5 separate regions of the Homo sapiens genome follow, and all the other regions are linked to region 1. Evidence: promoter capture Hi-C in 16 types of primary human blood cells and fetal thymus (Javierre and others, 2016). All regions are on one chromosome and are shown on one strand. Each heading gives the region's core, a stretch centred on a gene start or on the middle of the fragment in contact. The rest is flanking DNA. Distances are from core to core; before and after follow the strand shown. Region 1 holds the start of AOAH (acyloxyacyl hydrolase). Region 2 overlaps ELMO1 (engulfment and cell motility 1). Region 3 overlaps ELMO1 (engulfment and cell motility 1). Region 4 overlaps ELMO1 (engulfment and cell motility 1). Region 5 overlaps ELMO1 (engulfment and cell motility 1).

Region 1 (2,700 bases), core at 201-2,700:
GAAGATCACTTGAACCCAGGAGGTCAACACTGCAGTGAGCTGTGATCACACCACTGCACTCCAGCCTGGATGAAAAAGCAAGGCCCTGTCTCAAAAAACAAACAAACAACAACAACAACAACAAAAACAAGACACTGAAGGGGGGAAAGTTACATCACTGGTCTAATATATTACTCAGAATAAACAGTAGACATGAGACGTAAGCATGAGCCTTTCTGTCTTCACAATCTGAGTTCCTAATCAATCAGTCCTTTATTTAGCCTCCCTTGGAAGTCTCTGGAACTTCTCTAGGCCTCACCCCTGTGGTGGTCCTAGTGACCCCAGAGCTCCCCTTAGTCACAGAGTGAAGAACTGAAGCAGCAGCACCTTAGAGTCAGAGGAAGTCACAGGCCCATGGACGCCTAACGATATCCTCAGTATTGGGCTGGAAGTGTAATTAGGGAAACACTCTGACTTGTGCTATCTCTGCAGCAGGTTTGGGAATTGTAGCCCCATCGGTGCTTGTAAGACTAATGACTGCACAAGAAATCTTCCAACCATAAAAACTGGTATTTCCTACATCCTGGAAAGGATGCTACTCTAAAACTTTGCCTGCTACTCCAAATGCTATTTTTTTTAATTGCTAACAATTTAGATAGCTTCTATAATATTTCAAAATTTGTAATAAGCTCCCTCAGAGCCTAAGCAGAGAGAAACAGAATCTCATGACCTCCTACACTTACCTAGACTGTGGTACTTTGGCCCTGTCCTCTTATCTTGACTGAGAATGGCATATGATTTTGTTTTATCTTATTTTAGAGAGAAACATTTAGATTATATGTCTTTTATCTATGATCTGGTTCCGATTTTTTTTTTCCCTCAGAAAGACAGTGTTCAGTTCTATTCTTCAGAGCAGAAAATCAGTCTCTTAACAAATCATCCACAAAATGCACTTCGAAATTCTGGAGAAAAAAAAGATGCATTGTGCACAGCCTAGCAACTGTGAATTGATTAATTCTAACCCATGTTTTTTCTCATTAGGTCTAAAATCCCACCATGCTAACTGCCCATTATTTTCTGTACTGTTTATTTTCTGCACACCAAATAAAAGGCCTTGACCCTTCAAGGAATAACCCAATTTCTCCAGAGGAAAGATATTATTTGACCAGAATATCCTTTTACAACAAAATAAGGATCACAACCTTACCATATAAAGCTGTTGAAAACAAGACTAAGTAAGTTCTGAATGTAACCAATTAGAATTTCTACAATATGTGGGTGCTGCTGATCAAATTGTTAAAGGGTTGTGTGCTTGTGGATTAGTTTTTTTTTTCTTTTTTCTTCTCAGTTTTGGCTTTAGTATCGTTTTGTTTTGTTTTGCAAGAATGAAAGGGGAAGGGCCTCCTAACCAACCCAACAGATCAGTTCCGGCAAGCCTCGAGGCTCACGGGGTTTATGCACACTAACTTCACTGAGCCAGGGAGCACGGAAGTTGTGCCACTGTGCAACTTGGGTTTTCTTTATCCTGCAGTCTTTACCTCAGCAGAACCGCACACCACAGACTCCCTCCAGCTCTTTGTGTGTGGCTCTCTCAGGGTCCAACAAGAGCAAGCTGTGGGTCTGTGAGTGTTTATGTGTGCTTTTATTCACTTCACACTTATTGAAAAGTGTGTATGTGAGAGGGTGGGGTGTGTGTGTCAAAGAGAGTGAGGAAGAGAAGGAGAGAGAGATCAATTGATTCTGCAGCCTCAGCTCCAGCATCCCTCAGTTGGGAGCTTCCAAAGCCGGGTGATCACTTGGGGTGCATAGCTCGGAGATGCAGTCCCCCTGGAAAATCCTTACGGTGGCGCCTCTATTCTTGCTCCTGTCTCTTCAGTCCTCGGCCTCTCCAGCCAACGATGACCAGTCCAGGCCCAGCCTCTCGAATGGGCACACCTGTGTAGGTATGCAAATAAATATTTTTGTATTTTCTATGTAGACATAACAATGGGATCCAGTACTTTGCTTGCGTAATAAATCACATATTTTATTAAATCAAGAATTGTAAGATTCCAGGTAAGGCACCAGTAACCTCACTGACACAGAGAAATGTGGAGTCTAAGAGTAGACATTGACACTACATACATCTATGTGAATAAAAAGCATACTAGTTTAAATTGGGCATAAAACTCTTCCACCTCATTGGCGATTGGAATTTTTTCTTCTTGTATAGGTAACTATTATTTCAGGCTATTTTAGTCTGAAATTTTTACTGCTTTTCATGGGCTTTGACCTCATATAAACACATCTGAGTTTGAATCACTGCCCTCCTCCTACCCTTCTCTCCCATTTCCTACTGGCTGTGGAAACCTGGAGCAATGTACTTAACCCTCTCCATGCTTCTGTGTCCTTATTGGTGAACTGAAGTGAGTGAGACCCATCTCATAGGGATACCATGGAAATTGTGACCATGCATGTAAATCTGTGGCATGTGCACACAGTAAGGACTCAACCATCTTAGCTTCCTTCCGTCTCTCAGAGAATCCAGATTTGGCGATCACCTGGAGACGCTGAGCGTTGATATGGCTTCTTGGCTCATCTGTTAATGAAGTGTTTTATTTCCAAGAGGTTTTTTTTGTTTGTTTTTTTTGGATGAGAGCAGGAAGTAAGGTAAGATCTTTGATATTCACATTGTAGCTCTCATAACATGGGAATTCTCATAATAGTGGTGGCATTTAGATG
Region 2 (2,700 bases), core at 75-2,574, 250 kb before region 1:
CACTAAGTCAACCGCTAGTGAGATATCAGAATTGTCTTACAGCTGAAACTGATTTTTCATCCCTCTCTTATGTCCTTGCCTCAGCTCAGTGCCTTGTGCAAGACTTTGAAAAGAAGCATACAGGGAATTATCATCAGTATGCAGGGTTTTGGTGATAAGGCAGACAGCTCTTTACTCATCCTCTTGCTCAGCTGTTCCGTGGAGGTGTTGCCATCTGACAAGGAGGGCTGCAGCCTTGCGCTTTGGGAGCTAACTTCTCTTTTCCTTTGAGCTGTAAGTGATGAGAGACCTGTCAAGGAGAGCTGTTCACTGGCATCATTCCCAGACCTGGAAGTATAATGAAATAAAGTTTCTTTCCAACTTGGTTGGAATTCTTGCAGCTGAATATTTAAGATAGCATCTGGGGCAGTTCTGACGTCCACTTGCCTGGTTGGAAAGAAACACCCATGAGCTAATGGAACTCAGGCCTTCACACTGGTAGCCCAAGTCAGGGCTGCTCTGGGCAACTCAGTTCTAACTAGAGTCATCTAGGCCACAGGTCCCAGCAGGTGAGATGGAGCCCCCTCCTTGCCTAATGAGCCAGCAATTTGAAGTCCGCATTTCAGAAACTTTGTCATATACAAAGAGGGATATCAAAGCAGGAGCTGGTTTGAAAACCACCAACATTGGCACTGTCCCTAGACCTAGACTACTTAATGCTAAAGGTTCCAGGGCACTCTTTCTAGTACCATGAGGGTAGTAGCAGAGCCACACCTTTTAGCTTTAGAGATTGATGGGGGACAAGGGATGACAGCCGCGTCCTAGATTCCCTGAGCCAGCGTCAAATATCTGGGCAAAGTAGGCGTAAGAAGCTTTGCAAAGACCACCTTATGAGCCATGCTTCTGTCCCCTCTAAAATTTTCTGAGAACTGGGTAGAGGGACTCCTTAATCTCTGTGAACCTTAGCTTCCTCATCTGTAGAAAGGGAAGAAGGTACATTTCCCATGAGGCTGTTAACAAATGAAAATATAAATGATGTATGTGTGAGTGATTAGTAAATTATAATATGTATGGGAGGGGAAAATAGTCTGATTCCATCCCTTGGGTAGAAGCCATTTATTTTTCATGTCTCACAGAATGTCTAGTTCTGCTCTTTTGCCATGGAAGTTTCTCTCTACTTTCAGATTATTCTCCTAAATAATCCTCAGGCACTACCCCAACCCTCTAGCATTAAAGGCCACCCAGAGAGAAAGGCACTACACTTACAAGCCAGGGCCTGGGTCAAGTTTCAGCATAGCCACCAAGTAAGATTTAGGTTTCGCCATGTTGCCCCTTCAATCTTTAGTATTTTTTCTCCTGGATAAAAATATAGATCTTATTGACTCTACCTGGTACATAGAAATGTTTAGAGAGCACATTTATTAATATATCCCATGTACTCTGTGGATTGTAAAATAAGGGCTTACTATTATGCTTCAAATCTAATATCTCCTAACAACTCATCCTTGTTTATTGAGGAGGAATAATTGGAAACCTATTTCTAGGGTAGCAAAAGCTCCAGAATGTGGAGCTACAGTGATGTGTATGTAGTTTCCTGGTTTTGGAAGCCAGTCAACATCAAATGATATTGTGCTTCTAGGGAGATGCCTGGCGGCATTCAAGAAGGCTGTGACCTGCCATAAATAATCGGTGGCTTTTACATTTGTAAGTCAAGATGTTCTTGGTCTCAGCAGATGGCCCATAAATCTTTCTGGATAGCTGAGCTTTAGCCATCCTACCCCAACTCTTTCTTCTTCTTGAAGGCATAATGAAAGCTTTGAGAAACATGTACATTTTTGGTTCTTTCACATGCAGGTTCCCAGCCACTTCTTGATGACTTTCTTCTCCACACCCCCTGCACTCCCGCCGGCCATGCACTTCATACCCATGATGTATTCTGTCAAGAGAGGAGAAGGGGTGATTTCTTTCTCTGTCACATCTGGACATCTATTTACTGTGAACTTATAGCATCCTAGATCTTGAAGTAACCTGAGTCCTAGGATGTCAGATAGATTTCATCTGGTGACAACTTAGGTCCCCTGGTGTGGCTTCCTGGGGCTCTACCTCTGGGCTCCATGAGCCAACAGGGAGTGAGGGGAGGGTAGTAGCATGCAGTTACCTTATTACAGGTAAAGAAAGTGAGGTTCAGAAACATTCATTGACTTGCTAATATCCACTGTTAACAAGAGACAAAGTTCACATTTTCTTGCTCAATTTATTCAACAATCAATGTTTGCTGAATGCCAACCCTGTATCAGGTACTGTTCTAGGCCTTGGGATTCCCAGCTGTGAGTATATATGGATTAACCTGCATGGAGATTTATTTTTCAGGCAATCATTAGCCTCAGAGTTGGAATTCCCCAGAATATGGAAGCTACAATAAGAAAAAAATTCAACAAACCACATTTATTTATGTATTCACTAAGTCATCTGTGTATTCACCTATGCATTCATTTCCATGCCTGTTTACCTGACGAAAATTTATCCACTTTCAAAAACTGGGCCCTTGTAAGAGTTGTTTGAAAACTACTTGAAAGTAATCGGTGAAAACAAATTGTCCAACAGCTATCTTTGCCTTCCGCCCTCCTTCCCCTCTAAACACCTAAGAGAAACTGAACTGTAAAAACAAATTCAAGAGGTGTAGCTATCCTAGTTTCACAAAGCAACCTCCAAGGAGAAACC
Region 3 (2,700 bases), core at 126-2,625, 140 kb before region 1:
TGAGTTATGAAACTGATAGAACAGAAAGGAGAAATAAACAAATTCATTATTATTAATATATTGGAGACTTCAACTTCCCTTGGTCAGTAATCAGTAGACCAAGCAGGCAGAAGATCAAGAATATTGATGACCTGAACAGCACCATAAATCAGCTTGATCTAATTGACATTAATAGACTAATCCACTCAGCAACGGCAGAATACACATCCTTCACAAGCTCAAAGGAAACATTCACCAAGATAGACCACATTTTGGACCGTAAAGCATGTCTTAAAAAATTTAAAGAATAGCAGTTAGACAAAGTATGTTCTCAAATCACAATGGAATTAAACTAGAAATCAGCAGCAGAAAGACAGCTGGAAAATCCCCCAAATGTTTGGAAATTTAACAACACACTTGTAAATAACCCACAGTTCCAGGAAGAATTCCCAAGAGAAATTACAAAATGTTTCAAACTAAATAAAATGAAAATCCAGCTTACCAAAATGTGTGGGATGCAGTGAAGGCAGTGCTTAGAGGGAAATTTATAGCATTGAATGACTACATTAGAAAAGAAGAAAGAACGAAAATCAATAAAGCTTCCACCTCAGGACACTAAGGAAGGAGAGCAATTTAAGCTTAAAGCAAGCAGAAGAAAAGAAATATAAAATTTAGAGTAGAAATCAATGAAACTGAAATCAGTAGAGAAAATCAACAAAACCAAAAGCTGGTACTTTGAAAAGATGAATAAAATTGATAAACTTCTAGCCTGGCTAACCAAGAAAAAAATGAGAGTCACCCATATAACAGATGTGGAGATGATTTCATTTGAACATGTGAGGTAGTATATTTGGCCTTGTATCAGACTCCTCTCTCCTTAAAGGAGACTAAAAAAGTAAAACCGAGTAAATGATGTTTTGCAACCTTTATTTTTCACATATTGTCATGACACTCATAAAACATAGGATGGATGATGATGGATAGATGGATGATGGATGGACAGCTGGAGAATGATGGATGGATGGAGTACGCCACTGTAAACAGATAAGACTGCAAATAGAGGCTACTTCCTGGGACTCACTGGCCCGTATTTCTAGCTACCCTGGGCTCTTCCAGTCTGCCATGAGGGATAAGACTAGCAGAATTTCAAGCAGCCTGGCCCTTTAATTAGCATATACATGGAATTTACTTGTCTTGCAATGTTACTAGTGTTCATATATACCATGTCATCAAGCAAAACATCAAAAGGCAGAAGGAAAGCCACGATTTTACCTGCTGAACCCCCCAACCCACACCCCTTTCCCCGTACTCCAGAGGTGCCCTCCTGTCTACCTCTGGGACTTCTGGGTAGGAAAAGGGGACCTGCAGCCTAAAAGGAGAATTGACCAGAATGTGTTCATAAGAGGTCTGTCAGTACACAGTGGATGGATGACAACCAAGGCAAATTGCTGGCTCTTTGGACAGTTTTTCCAGCTGTGGAACAGCTTTTGACATTTTGTGCCATGAGACCCATGGTTAACTTAATCACCGAGCAAGGCAAACTGAGACATTGGCATCTGTAAAAGAGATACTTTGTTAATGGCAGAGTGTTGATAACTGATCATCCTCTCACCCATTCGGTCTCTGCTGATGTTCCCAGCAGGGCCCTGAGAACAGAAAGAAGAAAATTGGTCCTTTCCCTTGAGGTGTCTATTGCAGAGGCATTTGTTCATGTAGTCAGTCATCCACTCAGTCAGCATGGGAGTGCCTGAAATAGCACAGGACTAAATGGGGTAGCTGGGGTCCTGTCTTTCTGGAGCTTAGAGTCTGTTATGTTTAACAGAGTTCAGTGCAGCAGGCACATTTTTACGGAGACAAGAAATGGTGGGTTCTTCACACAGGGATCAGAAAGTTTCTCATTGAGACTTGAAAAGAATTGCCATGAGTAGATGGAAATTCAGTTGGAAGGTTTTGATTTGCAAGGATTAAGGATTCTAAATTCAAACTCTATAATTTATAAAAATAAGCTGATTTGTGGCTGTGTGCTTTAAGGTGGGCATTCTTGGTGCTTGTCTCACTGAATTTGGGGCTTTTAGGTCAACAGTCAACATGAAATCACCAGAGTGAAGATCCATTGATTCAGATAGGAGTATATTTGGTGTATGAGAAGCTTCCATCTTCCCATTTGCCAGAATTAAGCATTTGTTTTTCCAGTGTGATGCTTAAACCTGAAATAGGAAGCATATTCTACTGAAGCTGATGTTCTAGCATCAGTTTGAAAACCCTGGTCTTAGCCAAAAAGTCCTTTATTCACATTTACTTCATTCATCATCCATTCATTCATTCATTCAGCAATGTATTGAGCATCTCCTTTGTCCTAGGTGCCAGGAATCCAAAGATAAATATGACCTGGCCCCTGGCCCTAGGTGTCCAGTAGATAACATTTATATTTAAATATGCAATTACAATTCAATATGTCTATGCCAAAAAAAATTAAACATGGAGCCTGGGAGAGTTGAGAAAGGTGATGCAGGACATGGCATCTGATCTAGCTTTTGAAAAGGAATTGGCCAGGCAGAGAATGAGGAGAAGACTTTCCAAAAGGAGGAAAAAGTCTGAAAAGGCACAAGGGCCTTTGCTCATGTGAAAAGCATCCTCTAATTGGGAATGTTGAATTCAGAGTATAGGATGGATGGGGATGGGGAGAAGAATATGGATTGGAGAACTATTGGCCGGTTACGC
Region 4 (2,700 bases), core at 19-2,518, 210 kb before region 1:
TCTGGGATAAATCCCGAAAAGCTGCCTTAAATGTTCTAAAGGAAGCACATTTTATTCCACATTTGTATCCATCCTTTTCATTCTAGCATGGTGCCCAATAAGCATGATAGTGACCAAAGCTTTCATCTTATTAAATTCTGTATTATTTTAGACTACATTTCTTAACTATCAAATTGACAAAAATGAATGAAGTGTAATAGGAAAGAAAGAAACTCTTATCCATTCTGACCGCTTTTGAGGACTGATGGAGGAAGAGATAGGAGACTGAAGGTGCGCATGTTCTCACCTCAAAGTTGAGTCTGAAAAGGTTCACTGAATTTTTCTGCGTGTCCCCTTTGTGCAGAAAGAGAGGAAGCATGTCTTTCTCACCCTAGAAAACATGCTTTGACCGTTTTTGCCCTTGCCTTATTGGAAAACAGCTGAAATTGTGAGTATGACATGTTTGGAATGATAGACTTTCTCACTAAGGGAGGAAAGCAGAGTCAAGCTTATTTTAAAAAATCAGTGAGGTGTTTCTAAAAACACAGCATTAAAAAATGATGTGCCTGAGCATGTTCTGTAGAAGATGATTTTATCCTATCTTAGAGGGTATTTCAATTATGACTACTCTTTTGAGGAGCAATGCCCCTGGAATACAGGAGTGAGTAACAGAGCACAGCATGTGGCTTGGGAGGCTTCCCACTAAATGCAACTCAGCAAATTAAAAGCATATGTAATTTTAATGACAGCCTAAGAGAAATGAACCTTCAAAGGTTAGGAAATTGTAGTTTTCATTTGAGGGAATTGCATGGAGCTAGACTTTCTACTCTTTTTATCTTAAAAAGGCACATCCAAAAATATTACAGTATATGAACATGGACTAAAATTCACTGAATCTGCCATTTGAAAGCAAGATACAGCTTTTGAATTAGCCTAACACTGGCTTGCTATTGATTTTGTTAACATAACTACATTGGGCCCAAAAAGCCACCTAACCATTTCTAGACACATCCAGAGGGCATAAGTATTCCCTGGCAAATAGTAGCTTGCCCATGGGCTGGGGAGACCCGTACACCAGGGTAGTCAGTTCAGTTGCATTTTATATAGGCAATGAGCTCATGACTCCTCAGTGACTGGATGTGTTTCCCAACTCTCTTTGATTTGCGTTGACCAGTGCTCCTCACAGTAGGGGTGCTACCTAATGACCAACATAATCTCTCAACATAATTTAGGGCCTTGTGGAGATGCACTATTTCATTAGGCCACTTGGATCTCATGGAGCAGCAGACTATTCATTTTCTCAATTGCTCCCGAAGGGATATGCAGAGCTGATGAACCTCTTTACTTATACTTTGGGAGTAACTCATGGACCGGACAAGCTCTGGCTTGTTTCCAGGGGACTCACTTGGGAGTAATGGTTTTCAAGTGCATTTGAAAGCCAGTACAATAGATTTGACCATCATAGACTTGAATATATAATATTTCAGTATACATCGCCAGCTATTTTCACATTGTGGTGTTACAGTGAGTCTAAGACATACTCTCTATAAAAGTCATCAGCTGCTTGACCCATTCATTGTTTATTTTTTCAACAAGTATTATATGAGTGCTGACCATTCTGGGCTGGGCCACACTAAACACTGAGCTGGAAGACCATAAAGCATGCTTAATAAAGGTTTGGAGGGTGGCATGTTGCCCCATTAAGAAATATTTATGTGATCATTTTAATCTCAGCTTAGAGAAATTTTCAATCTGATGCCTTGATGTGTATTTACCTGTGTCTTGATGTGCATTCCATCATATCTAATGCCTTGATGTGTATTTACCAATGCTTTGGTGTGCACTCCATCAGAAAACTCAGATTTGAGAGGCAGGAGACTTAACGGGGGAGTGACCCTAGGGAACTAAGAGGAGGTGGCAGCACTTGCACTTTCATGTGGAGCTTGACCCCACTTCTATGTGGATGAAAGAGTCAGTGCAGTGCTGGTGGTGCGGCCAGCCCCTGGACATCAGGAAGTAAGCCTGGCAGGAATCCATACCCCAATCTGTAGCTGCCTAGACCAAGCTTACCCCATTAGAGGCAGTACTAGAGAGTATGGGGCTTTGGTTCTAGCAGAGTCTGCTACTTGCTAGCCAGGTGCCCCGAGTAAAACTCTTAACCTCTCTCAACTGCCCTTTCTTAGTAATCTCCACTATTAGGGCAGATGCAGCATGTAGCTCAGTGGCTGGCCAGATAAAACTTCCATAGGTGATGGTTGCCCATGACTAGTGAGGTCATGCTGCTACCAGTCCCTCCTGTCTTTCTGGTCCCTTGTTGTGGGTGCACGTGCTGTGCAGCTCTTTGTGTGTCATATGCCACACTTTAGTACATTCTCACCTTTCAGAAAAGCTCCCTTTCACATTTAATCTAGTGGAAGAAGACCCCTAGTTCCTCAGCAGGACTGTCTGATTCCCTGAGGCCTCTCCCACAGCCCTGGTGGGTGGGATGACTGACTGCACTTTAGACCATAGGTAATAGTTACAGTCTGGCCTGGGAATGGGGCTGAGAGTTTACTCGGCCTGCTCCTTCAAGATGAGCATTGTTAACCAGGCAGTGGGAACCAAACAGAGCCTGAAATAGGGGTTGGTGTTATCTCTCTGTTGCAGGGTGTCGCTGCCCCTGATGCATTTCTTGTCAGTGCTTCTTGGATAGAAGGAAAAAAAACGATGGTGTAATATACT
Region 5 (2,700 bases), core at 171-2,670, 230 kb before region 1:
ATTTCAAACAGAACTAAGAACTCTCTTGTTAGTTAAGGTCATAAATTTAAATGAGACCAGACAGCACCATTGTATGCTTTTCTCCAGCCTGTTCGGCTGTTCAGGTGGGTGGAGGAGGCAGAGAATAGGATTTAAGCTAGGTTGGTTTTGCTAAGCAAATATGATAGAGAGAAGAGGTACTGGGGATGTATTCATGAATACAAAAGGAGAGATTATAATTATAATGGAATAGAAGTTAGGTAATGAGGAAAGTGAAGCCATGAATGGGGTGATGGACAAGGAAAAGGTGGCAATGTTAAGAGTCACAGCAGGATCAGAGAACTTTTGGAATGTGTTGCAGGTTGCAACTGATTGGAGCCAGCATTGTGGGTGGTAAAATAATTTACAAAGACAGTAGTAAGTTAAAGAAAGCAATGGGCAGCACAGCAGAGAAGGAGCTGTCTGCAAAGAGACAGGATCTGGAGGGAAGTTTTACAGGGTGGTGCCGGAGGGGCTACCTACAGATAAGCTTGTGCTGCTGGGGCTACATGCAAAGCGAGGTATTTGGGAACAGGATGTTGTGTCAGCAGGTTGTTGGTGGTTAGCCTTCTCTCAGAACAATTGTTCTCTCCACACTTGGGGCATCTTCCTTGTTGTTTACTTATCTTGTCAGGACTCCACAGAATGGGCATACTAGAGAGAGTGAATTGGAAAGACACAAGATGGTGCTTGTAAACTTACGACTTCAGCAATGGTTCTGTATTTTCAATGACAAAGCTTAGGCTACAGTCACAGCAAAAGCTGCTTTAGGAGATTATAAAGGACAAGACCTTTGGGTTGAGGAGGGTTGTGGAACTGAGAAGCTAGGTATTGGGTAGATCATCTGTGAGGATATTGAAGTTACTAAGAATGATGATAAAGAGAGGGAAGGGTAAGAAAATCGTCAATGAATTGTGGCATGACCAGGTGGAGAGTAAGTGTCATAAAGAGGGATAGTGGATAGTATAATGTCAGGCACCTCAAAGGAACTGGGCAGGGAGTTAGGGAGTAAAAAGGGCGGTGGTCTGGAAGCAGAAAGGAGGAGCAGTGGTCCAGTAGGGGCTGCAGAGCTGCAAGGCTTTGCCTCAATCCTGTCAAAGGCAACTTCAAGCTTTCCAGGAGCCATACTCCTTCATTTGTTCATTACTTTCTAGATTAGGAAATCACCACTCAGCGACTGGGGTCTTTGCCTGAATGTATTTCAGAATTACTAAGTTGGTTGAATGCTTCCACAAATACTGTTTTCATGGAGAGCACTTCATATTTACATTGGAAAAGAGCTGGTGCCATCCTCTCCACAGAAACAAGGCTGACAGCCCTTAAATAGCTTTGGCTATCTCTTGGGGAGATCACAGTTTGTGGGAAATCGACAACATTACCATGGAACATAACTTGGAAATGATATTTTTCTTTGCTCGCCACTGAGCATTTTGGACTTGGGAAACAGGCTACCAGAAGAGTAGTTATTGGGAAAGGGCAATCAACACGTGCTTTCCTTGGCTCATGATTTCTTGCCATTTTTTCCGGCGTTGTAATCAAACCTGTAGGCTACTGATTATTTACTCATTAAGTTCCACTTTCTCACTCTTCCCATTTCAAAGTAGTCATTTAAAAAATTGCCCGATCGATGATTTTTATATAGGAACAACATATTTTTTATGAAAGTCTTTTTCACAACTGCTAAGAAGCTTTGTCACTATAAGCTGTCACAAGATGGCATCACTTGGTAGTCTTCAAGTCTAATTAGTTTTCTTGTACGCCTGGGTGCATTTTTGAGCTATAAAATAAAACTTGTTGAATAAAGTGACCTTTTTTTTATATGCAGTCTAGCCTATTTTGGAATTGTCCTTTACAAACATATAACATGATGATTGATCAGATGGCATTTGGGTCTGAAATTACTTCTTGGATGTAGAAGAGAACAAGGCCTTGTTTTGAAAGTTTCTGACTTAATTATTTTATTTCAAAAAAGACAAGAAGGCATATGCAGAATTTGAAGGGAATTATAGATTCTGCCCTGACCAAGAGAAGGATAAGAAAATCATCAATGGATTGTGGCATGACCAAAAGCAGAATAAATAACATAAGGAAGGCTGTAGTCCCATGGCAGGCACCTCAAAGGAACTGGGCAGGAGGTTAGCAAGTGGAAAGGATAGTGGTCTGGAAGCAGAAAGCAGAAGCAAGAAGTACACCTATTCAGCCTCCAAGAAATATATGTAGCCTTCAGGACACCCTAGACAAGAAAAGGCTCTCAGAAAGGGAACAGGTATTGAGATAAATAAATTTGAGGTGGACACCTACTTTGCATCACGACACTGTGTTAAGACCTAGAGATCTAAACATGAAAAAGGGATCTTCTAAAGCATCGAGTGGTCTAGCAGAGGAGAGAGACATGGAATCCAGTAGCCCTGTTGAGTTAGCATTATACTGAAAAAGAGAAGTGAGAACAGTTTATCCTCTTGGGTGAGTAGGGAGCTGGGATCCTACAAAGAACAAGAATGGAGATATCTGAACTGGACTTTGAAAGATATCAAGAATTTACCACCCATTTTGGATAGGAATGGGCTAGAGGGTGTCAGGGAAGGAATTTAAAGATGAGGCAACAGCCTGAATAAAGGATTAAGGTCACGAATAGGGTAGACTTTGGGACCCTGGGGAAGTAGCAAGGGACAGCAAGAAGTG

What was found. Contacts are between HindIII fragments. The CHiCAGO score rates a contact against its expected background, and 5 or more counts as called.
Region 2: a fragment that was not itself captured here is called in contact with the fragment with the promoter of AOAH in region 1 in 1 of 17 cell types (total CD8 T cells); the score reaches 5.1 in total CD8 T cells.
Region 3: a fragment that was not itself captured here is called in contact with the fragment with the promoter of AOAH in region 1 in 1 of 17 cell types (naive CD8 T cells); the score reaches 5.2 in naive CD8 T cells.
Region 4: a fragment that was not itself captured here is called in contact with the fragment with the promoter of AOAH in region 1 in 1 of 17 cell types (total CD8 T cells); the score reaches 5.1 in total CD8 T cells.
Region 5: a fragment that was not itself captured here is called in contact with the fragment with the promoter of AOAH in region 1 in 1 of 17 cell types (M1 macrophages); the score reaches 6.0 in M1 macrophages.

Annotation. Positions count from the first base shown.
Region 1 is chr7:36,723,244-36,725,943 of GRCh38, reverse strand. AOAH (acyloxyacyl hydrolase) reads left to right here and starts at 1,450. Exons shown (of 21, transcript NM_001637.4): 1 at 1,450-1,922. The coding sequence starts at 1,796. The HindIII fragment of the contact is 12,094 bases long and covers 1-2,700 here.
Region 2 is chr7:36,977,626-36,980,325 of GRCh38, reverse strand. All of the region lies in intron 16 of ELMO1 (engulfment and cell motility 1), which reads left to right. Among named protein-coding and RNA genes, the nearest start is that of ELMO1-AS1, 19 kb to the left of the region's middle. RefSeq lists a silencer at 15-215. The HindIII fragment of the contact is 942 bases long and covers 854-1,795 here.
Region 3 is chr7:36,865,474-36,868,173 of GRCh38, reverse strand. All of the region lies in intron 20 of ELMO1 (engulfment and cell motility 1), which reads left to right. Among named protein-coding and RNA genes, the nearest start is that of MIR1200, 53 kb to the left of the region's middle. The HindIII fragment of the contact is 1,511 bases long and covers 620-2,130 here.
Region 4 is chr7:36,928,498-36,931,197 of GRCh38, reverse strand. The region is part of intron 16 of ELMO1 (engulfment and cell motility 1); the gene reads left to right. Among named protein-coding and RNA genes, the nearest start is that of MIR1200, 10 kb to the right of the region's middle. The HindIII fragment of the contact is 1,557 bases long and covers 490-2,046 here.
Region 5 is chr7:36,955,681-36,958,380 of GRCh38, reverse strand. All of the region lies in intron 16 of ELMO1 (engulfment and cell motility 1), which reads left to right. Among named protein-coding and RNA genes, the nearest start is that of MIR1200, 38 kb to the right of the region's middle. The HindIII fragment of the contact is 577 bases long and covers 1,132-1,708 here.